Regions from separate parts of the Homo sapiens genome. Here regions 1 and 2 are each linked to region 3. Evidence: promoter capture Hi-C in 16 types of primary human blood cells and fetal thymus (Javierre and others, 2016). All regions are on one chromosome and are shown on one strand. The core of a region is centred on a gene start or on the middle of the fragment in contact, and the rest is flanking DNA. Distances in the headings are between cores, read along the strand shown. Region 1 holds the start of PHF8 (PHD finger protein 8). Region 2 holds the start of FAM120C (family with sequence similarity 120 member C). Region 3 holds the start of KLF8 (KLF transcription factor 8).

What was found. The method cuts DNA at HindIII sites, captures the fragments that hold promoters and counts their contacts. A CHiCAGO score of 5 or more calls a contact.
Region 1: a fragment that was not itself captured here is called in contact with the fragment with the promoter of KLF8 in region 3 in 1 of 17 cell types (M0 macrophages); the score reaches 7.0 in M0 macrophages.
Region 2: the fragment with the promoter of FAM120C here is called in contact with the fragment with the promoter of KLF8 in region 3 in 1 of 17 cell types (M2 macrophages); the score reaches 9.7 in M2 macrophages.

The regions. Positions count from the first base shown.
Region 1 is chrX:54,043,279-54,045,978 of GRCh38, reverse strand. PHF8 (PHD finger protein 8) reads left to right here and starts at 1,506. Exons shown (of 22, transcript NM_015107.3): 1 at 1,506-2,217. RefSeq lists enhancers at 915-1,374, 1,585-1,834 and a silencer at 1,395-1,564. The HindIII fragment of the contact is 3,125 bases long and covers 1-2,700 here.
Region 2 is chrX:54,181,847-54,184,546 of GRCh38, reverse strand. FAM120C (family with sequence similarity 120 member C) reads left to right here and starts at 1,293. Exons shown (of 16, transcript NM_017848.6): 1 at 1,293-2,047. The coding sequence starts at 1,349. RefSeq lists silencers at 861-960, 1,531-1,740, 1,751-1,800. The HindIII fragment of the contact is 3,156 bases long and covers 1-2,700 here.
Region 3 is chrX:56,230,941-56,233,640 of GRCh38, reverse strand. It overlaps KLF8 (KLF transcription factor 8), which reads right to left and starts at 1,285. Exons shown (of 6, transcript NM_007250.5): 1 at 300-1,285. The coding sequence starts at 306. The HindIII fragment of the contact is 3,283 bases long and covers 1-2,700 here.

The sequences.
Region 1 (2,700 bases), core at 40-2,539, 2.2 Mb after region 3:
TCTAAAACAACAAACATAAAAAAAAAAAAAAACCCTAAACCATCCTCTGGGTAAGTCACAAATATGAGACTAAGCTACCCCTGCTCAAAAACCTGTGTTTTCTTTTTGCTAACTGCATACAATCTAAACTCTTTTGCATTTCGCAATCTTTCATGTTGTGACCCTTTACTGTTTGACCTCCTACCTATCTCTCTTCTGTTTTCCTTGTTCCAACAATATTCAACTTCTAGTAAATATTTTTCTATGTGCCTCCATGCATTTGTACACGTTGATCCTTTTGAGTACAATGTTCTCGCTTGTTTATTTAAGTGAACTTAATCGTCCATGTCCCCCTGCCGTCTTTCTTACAGCAGCTGCAAGCAGCTTGTAAGGCTCTTTTGTAGCTTCATGTTGCATTTTGCAAAGGTCATTTTGCAGGTGGTATTTGTGTGCTTACTGTGCCTTCTATTCCAATTGTTTACTCGCAACTTTGTTTCCTGCACTGGCAGATGCCCTCCCACTCCAGAGGCCCTGTTTTCACCATTGCATCCCCAGGGCCTACCCCACCATCACTGGTTAGTAAATTGTGTGCACGCACACATTTCCTTTTTAAAGCAATGGGACCCTTTAAGAAAATGAAATAGTAAGATAACTCCTAGAGAATTTTCTAGAATGTTTGAGAAAACCTAGGCCATCTTGAAGCATATGTACGAAGCTCCACTAACTCAGCAAAGCTCCACTAACTCAGCCTTTCCTCTCATCCCCCCTCCTCTCCCCTCCCCTCAGGCTATAGTCAGAAAATTGTGGGACAGGTGCAAACAAATCCTTGAACTGTATTTGAACTGAAGTGAAACAGTAGGGTCAAAGAAGAGTTCAGAGGGAGTTGTGGAGTTGGCAGCAGCTTTACAGAGGAACTACACTGAGGGCCTGGGGACAGAACGCGGGTAGCACAGGGCACAAGGTTCAACGTCCCTGCTCCGGGACTCAAGTCACTTGGCTTCTCGAAGCCCCTGCCTTCATTTGGTGATAATCACAGAGCTTCCTTCACAGGGGGAAGAACCAACAACGCAGAGACCGTGGGAAAGAGCCCAGCCTATCGAAGGTGCTCAATGAACAGGAGCCGCGGTGAGTACTCCGCCTCTACCCCGGCTGAAGCCCGCCCCCGCCGCCACCTATTAATTTTGTAGTTTGGAGTCACCGAGTTCACCTCCTCTCATAGGAGGAGAAGGCTGGGGAGGAGGAGTGTGCGAGTCGGGGTAGCTGAACTCCCTGTTTGCCCGGAGGAGGGGGAAGGCTAGGAAGTTTCGGGCCCCACTCAAAATGGAGCCAAACGTCTGCCTCGCCTAAGATGGCGGCTTCTCCGCCTCTGGGCTCAAGGTCTTCAGCGGCGATTGGGCACCTTAAAGAGACGAGCGGGTCCAAAGGTGGCTGAGAACCGCCCTCCTTTCTCAAGGTGGCGCCCCGCCCCCCCGATGACGTCACCCGGGAGCCGGCGGCTCGCGGTTCCCCGCCTCCGCCGCGCTCACCTCGCGAGTCCAGCCCTCATAAGATGGCGGTCGCCTTGGTTGTCTGGGTAGCGCCGCCACTCTCAACATGGTAGCTGTTTATCCCGTATTTCTCCTCCCCTCTCCGCCTCAACTTCCTCATTGTTTTGAATAAACTTTATTGACTACTCCGAATTGCCTACCACCGCCACTGGGCTTCTCCCAGCGACTTTTCGGGCCGTGTGCCTCGGACGTGGCGGCCGGTTCATCTCTTTCCCCGTTGGTTTGCTCGCGAGTATCTCCTGCCGGCCCAGCGACGACGCCACTTGCCCGTTCGCCGGGCGGCCGCCAGACTAGGCCCAAGCCGCGGTCTCCAGTAGGCCCGAACGGCCGGGCCGAGGGGAATGTTGTGGAGGAGGCTGCTCTGAAGCACCGTTGAGCGGCTGGCGCCGCGCGACCCAGCGGGGGGCTCGAGGGGAAGGCGAGCGAGGTTCCCGGCGGTACGGGGACTATCCCAGAATTCGACGCGCGTCGCCGTAGGGGCCGGAACTACCGGACGAGCCTCCGCTGAGGCGCTTCGCAGTCCCGGAGCTAGCCCGGCTGCCGGCGTGTCGCTGGGGCTGAGCTCCGCGGGCGTGGAGTCCTTGCAGCCCAAAGCATGAGGAGGTCCCTGTAGGATTCTGGACTGAAGACGTTCTTGTCAGGTTTGGGGCGTGAGGAGGTTCCTGTCAGTTGGGGAAGCGTTAAGATTCCTGTAAGTTTTGGGGGCTGCGAGGCTATTACTGTCAGTTTTAGGATATACTGTGAGGTACCTGAACATTTGGGGAGACTAGGGAGCTCTCATCAGTTTGAGGGGGGGCTGCAAGGAAACGCTGCCAGTTTCCGAGCGATGCAAAAGAATCCTTGCTTAGTTTCGGGAGTGTGAGGAAATTCTAGTCAGTTTGAGGGGTTTTGAATAGATCCTTTTGAGTTTCAGGGATGCAGCCAGAACCCTGTCATCTTTAAAGTACAGAACGAGCTGGTCAGTTTAGAGATTTATATTTATTTCAGTTTTGGGGGTGATGAGACTCCTGACTGGTCGGGGAAGGAATGATATTGAGAGTGATGGAAAGGATTATTTAAACTCTCCGAACACGACCCCAGAACTGTGATTTGAGTTGGGCGCCTAGTCTTGTCTGTCTTGTTCGTGAAGGCTTTGAGTAACCTGAAGAGACTTTCAGGGATCCCTTATCTCTCT
Region 2 (2,700 bases), core at 44-2,543, 2.0 Mb after region 3:
GTTGAAAATACATTTTTCAAAAGATTATGACTCCATACATCTGAAATTAGAGCCCTTGCAGCTATTTAGAAAAGCTCCCGACAGACTAAAACACAATGAAGTTTGGAAACCAAAGGCCCTAACCATAGGACATAGTGGATCTAGGAGTACCAAAAAGGTACAATTTGTAATGTAATTTGTGTTGGTAATTATCTCCCTGCCCAAAGAGATGCTGAGGGCAAGGATATTCGATTTAACTTTGTCTCTGCATTGCCTTAGGCAAGTAAATAATGTAAGTTTCTTTTTATTTATTTATTTATTTTTGAGACGGAGTCTGGCTCTGTCACCAGGCTGGAGTACGGTGACATGATTTTGGCTCACTGCAACCTCCGCCTCCCAGGTTCAAGCGATTCTCCTGCCTCAGCTTCCCCAGTAGCTGGGATTACAGGCACGTGCCACCACGCCCGGCTACTTTTTGTATTTTTAGTAGAGACGGGGTTTCACCATGTTGGCCAGGATGGTCTCGATCTCCTAACCTCGTGATCTGCCCGCCTCGGAGGGATTACAGGCGTGAGCCACCGCGCCCGACCAGTTACGTCTTTCTTAATTGGGACCAACAGCTCTTTAAATATTATCTTTCCACTAAGGGGAAAATCCTCCCTCCTGGGGAGTTTTAGCTCACTTTAGCTGAATTCAGTCAATCCACTCTAACTTCCATTCCCATGATGCATCAATCCATCCCCCAAAACTCTTTTTCCAGGAAAAAGCAGTAAATAACCTAAGCAACTCAGTGAGATGCAAGGAGTTGGAGTGCAACTCCTAAACACTCATCATCACGCCCCGCTTCCTGTGACCCTGTGAGCACAAGGGCTGAGAAGGGTGGTAGTCTGGTTCCTCGACTATATCCTAAGGCCATAGAGAAGACTACAACTACCAAGATGCCCCTCTCCCCGCCCCGCCCCGCCCCTCCTCGCTCCCCTTCCTCCAGCTAGAAAGCGTGTACCACCGAGAAGACGAGGCAACATGGCTCCCGGAGGTGGAAGAAAGAGGCTTCACCCCTTCTAAAGCGGGAAGAAGAGCGGCCGGAAAGGAGAAAAAAGAGAAGTGACTAGAGCCCATCCTCGCTTTTATCCTCCCAGCCTCTCCCGGGTCCGGTCTGCCCCTCCCCTTCTCTCTACCCAAATCCAATTTGTGGTCTCCTCCCCTCCCCGCCCTCATTCCCTCGCTTCCTCACCCCTCCCCTCGGGAATCCTTTTCCCGCCCCCCCTCGCCCCCCGCGGAGTGCGCACGCGCCCGCCCCCAGCTTCGCGCCCAGATCGTCGCCTATCCTGCTTGCGCAGCCGCTATCGCGTCTGCCCACCGACGAAGCATGGGTGTCCAGGGCTTCCAAGAGTTCCTGGAGAAGCGCTGTCCCGGGGCCGTGGTGCCCGTGGACCTCCTAAAACTCGCGCGCACGGTCTCGCGCCAGCAGCAGCAGCAGCACTTGCACCGCCAGCTGCCGCCGACTGCAGCCCTAGCGCCCGGGGCTCCACGCGCCGCCAGGGGCTCCGTGCCTCTGCAACCGCCGCTTCCGCCCGCTGCCTTGGGTGCCTACTCCGGGGGCGCGGGGCCGACTCGGCACCATCACCCCGCTCACCACTTCCACCATCATGGCCAAGCGCAGCCCGGGCTGCACCCTCCGCTGCCGCCGCCGCCGCCCCCTCAGCTGCCCGGGGCCCGGGTGCTGGTGGACGCCGGCTCGGCGCTGCCGCGGCTCTATGGCGGCTACCAGACGGATTGGGTGTGTGGCGGCCAATGGAACGCCATGCTGGGCTACTTGTCAGCGCTGTGCCAGGCTTGTGCCTATCCTGGCGGCGACGGCCTGGAGCTCGTGGTCATGTTCCCGGGGGGCCTGGGCAAGGACCGGCTGGCCGAGTGGGGCCGTCGGTGCCAGGCCGAGCGGCAGACAGCGCAACTGATCGTGGGACACGTGGGCAACAAGGGCACCCCTCCACCGCGGGCCTGGTTCCTGCCACCGGCCTGCCTGAGCCACTGCGTGAGGCTAGCACTCATCCGCTTCCGGGTCAAGGTGAGGGAGGGGCCGGATCTTAAATAATAAGCCCCACACCTATTCCCTCCCAACTAAATACCTAACCACCTACCCACTTACCCACTACCCTACCTCCCATCTACCCACCCACCTACCCGCCCAACAGCTAACCTACCTGCCTAACTACCCTCTACCATTTTATCCATTTACCTCCCCCTTCATACCACCCCCTACGGATTCACTCACCTACATGGCCATATCTCTACTCATGTCATCCCAGTAGCTCCCTTTAGCTTCCCTTATCCAATTGGCCTACCACTAGGTTTCAGCAGAATCTAGTCAGAATTTCTTTTGTAGCCTCATCTTTCTCCTGGTGTCTTCTGCCTCAAACTGAAATGCCTTTACCCTGCTTTTGCCAGTTGACATCTCTCTCCTGTATCTCTTTCCAACCTCGCAGTAAATCACTTAAGCAGGTGTGAACTGAACACCTTTCTTCTACATTGTTTTTCCGTCTTCACCCACTGCTGCTTTTTTACCCATCTGTGTCCATTCAGCCTTTTTCATTTCAACATGCATCTTCTTCCTCCTGCCTTAGCCTAAACACATAAAAACCCACTGATTCAGTCACTGTTCAGCAAGTATTAACTCACTGAGTGTAAGGGTTTTAAAGACATGTGAGACACTGCTCATGC
Region 3 (2,700 bases), core at 36-2,535:
TATTGGGAGTGCCGAGCCAGGGGAGACTAGACTAGACAAATCCATCCATTCTTGCCCCCTTTCACTTCTTCCACCAAGCTCTCTCCTCTCCTTCTTGGCCTTTCTTTGCCCAGCCCTTTAGCAAAGTCATTTTCCCTTGAGTTTCATTTGATTCCACATAGTGTTCTTAACCTTCCGCTCCCGCCCCCACTGCTGAAACCCCAAGTGGGGTGTGTGGGGGGAGCAGGGGGACTGGGAGGGGGATAGAATCTAGACGAAAGAGGTGGGAGTGGGTGGGTATTAGTCCCAGAGTCACTTACCGACCATGTCACTAGCTGAGGACTCCTGAAGTGTCCAGAACTCATGCCGTCCTCCGGGAGGCTCATACTCCTGAGCTGATCGCAAGAGAGCTGTTCCCCTCACACCCGCCCCATTCTGACATAGCGCAGGGCGACGCGTTCTCGTCTTCTCGTTCTTGGGCCCCCACTCCCCTATTTCTCCGGGCTGGAAAATGAGGAGGGGGTCGAAAGGGGAGGGAGTCGATTCAGACCCAGCTGGGCCACTCTCGGAACAAGGGAAACAAAGCTCTCAAGCATCCAACCCAAAAATCAGGGGCCGGCAGAGTAGACTTCCTAAAAAGAATCCTCCCCCCTGCAGCTTTTCCTTGGACAAAAATAAAGTGGGTTCGCTGGGCCGAAGTGGCCAGAGCTTAAGGTCCTCCGTTCCCCTTTTACCTCTACCAATTCAGTTCCGGCCAAGCCCGCTCTCCACCCATCCTCTGAACTCCACACACCCTTTAAAAGGAGAGGGCCGGGGGTGGGGGCTATGAAAACCAACCCAACCCCCAAAGCGCTACTTGAACATAAAGTTGAGGCGGAGAAGAAATCCTTCAAGACAGGAACCCACGAGGAGATACCACAAGAGGATCCCTTCACCGCCGCCGTTGCCGCCGCACACCCCAGCGCCTTCCTAAAAAGAAAGAAGGGAGGAAAAAAATGCCGACGATTGGTAGAATCATAGAGAAGAACACCAGCCCCAGGGCAGGGGCTTCAGCGAAAAATGGCAGCAACTCGTGCGGGTCCTCTGGGGCGGGGTTTCTTGGAGGCACCTAGCTGCCCCACGGGGTACCTCGCGCCCCACGCGAGTCAGAACCTAAAGTGCTCTCTGGGCAACCTGAGTGGGTAGAGTGATTCCGTCTTTCTCTGGCCCTGCTAGGCCCAAAGGAGAGGTGTGACTATCGTGAGGACTCCACCTAGGGTGGAGTTCCTTAAAAAGGACAGGCGGCCGCTAGAGGAGAGTGCAAAGTGGGAGGAGGTGGAGAAGGGTGGGGCTGAGAAGGAGGAGGGAGGAAGGAGGGGGTGGGGCGGGGCCCTGGGCCGACAGAGCTGGCCTCGCCTCCGGCGGCCGCCTCCCTCAGCCTCCAGCAGCGGCAGGTATAATTCCAATCAATTTCACTTCCTTATCTGTCCCAAAATTAAGGCTTGCAAGCACACTGCTTGATTACCTATTTACTCCGGTTATGCTAATTCTCCAGGGGAGGGTGGTGAAACGGGTACTGGGATTGGGGCTGGGGGCTGTCTAAGAGGGAAAGGAGAAAACAAAAAAGCTGACAACTGGAAGCGATATTTATCCTCCTACCTCTCCATGGTAACACGAACAAGGACAGCGAGGTCACAGTGTCTTCTCAGGGAGGAAGCTAAAAGGAACGGAGATTGGAGCTTGGTGCATTTTCTAGCAAGAGATAAGCCAAGGAGGTGAGGGCGAAGGAGTAGGTGGGGAAGAAGAAGGAGTTGAAGATGATCTGTGAATACAGCGTGGCCCAGCAGGGAGACTTAAGAAAGGCTTTCTCAGTCTCCCAGATACCAGACCTCTAAGAATAGAGTTCTCAACCCCCTGAGACCGCCTCTCAGCCAGGCATTGGCGAAGATCCCCGTAAAGCTGAATCCACAGGATAGGAGCCATGTTTCCAGGATTTCTTTACGCTTGCCTGAAAGTCTCTCTCTAGCTCATTTTAATGGGAGGCCAGGAAGTCACAAGCAACCACAGCCCATTTTCAGTGCCTCTTCCCTACCACAATTCTTTTAAAGAGGAGGAAAAAGAAGAGAGACAAGAAACAAAGCAGAGGGAGGAAGAGCAAAGAGACAGGAGAAATAATAATATCTGCCATGTATTCAGCACCTAATATGGGCAAGTCCCTGAGCCAGGTGCTTTTACATTCAACATTTCCCCATTTAGTCCCAATAACAACCCTGGGAACTAGGTACTGTTATATTCTCTGTGCCCTTTATTTAAAAAAATAAGGAAACGGAAGGCCTCAGCCCAGTACTTTCGAACACATAGGTCTACTTACTTAGTTGATATTTCTGCCTGAATGTCTTCTGTGCATCTCATCTACCTTCCTTTCCCCAAAACACTCTGTTCTTCCTCCTGTAGTTCACCAACTACCTGAATGGCACCACCATACATCCAAGGCAGCACCCTGGAACTCATCCTTTAACCTGCTGTGATCTGGCCTTTGTCTGCCTCTCAAGCAGCAGAGATTTTGCTGTTCTCCTGGGCTTTACCTGGATTACAAATCCCTGGGAATTCCAAGCTGTTTCCAATCTCTATGCCTTGGGTTGCTTTACTTTCTCTGACTGAAATAGACTAAGCTCTCTGTCCACCTTTTTTTTTCTTGCATGTCCTTCCAATGAATCTGTCCACTTTCTTGAAAGGACTAAC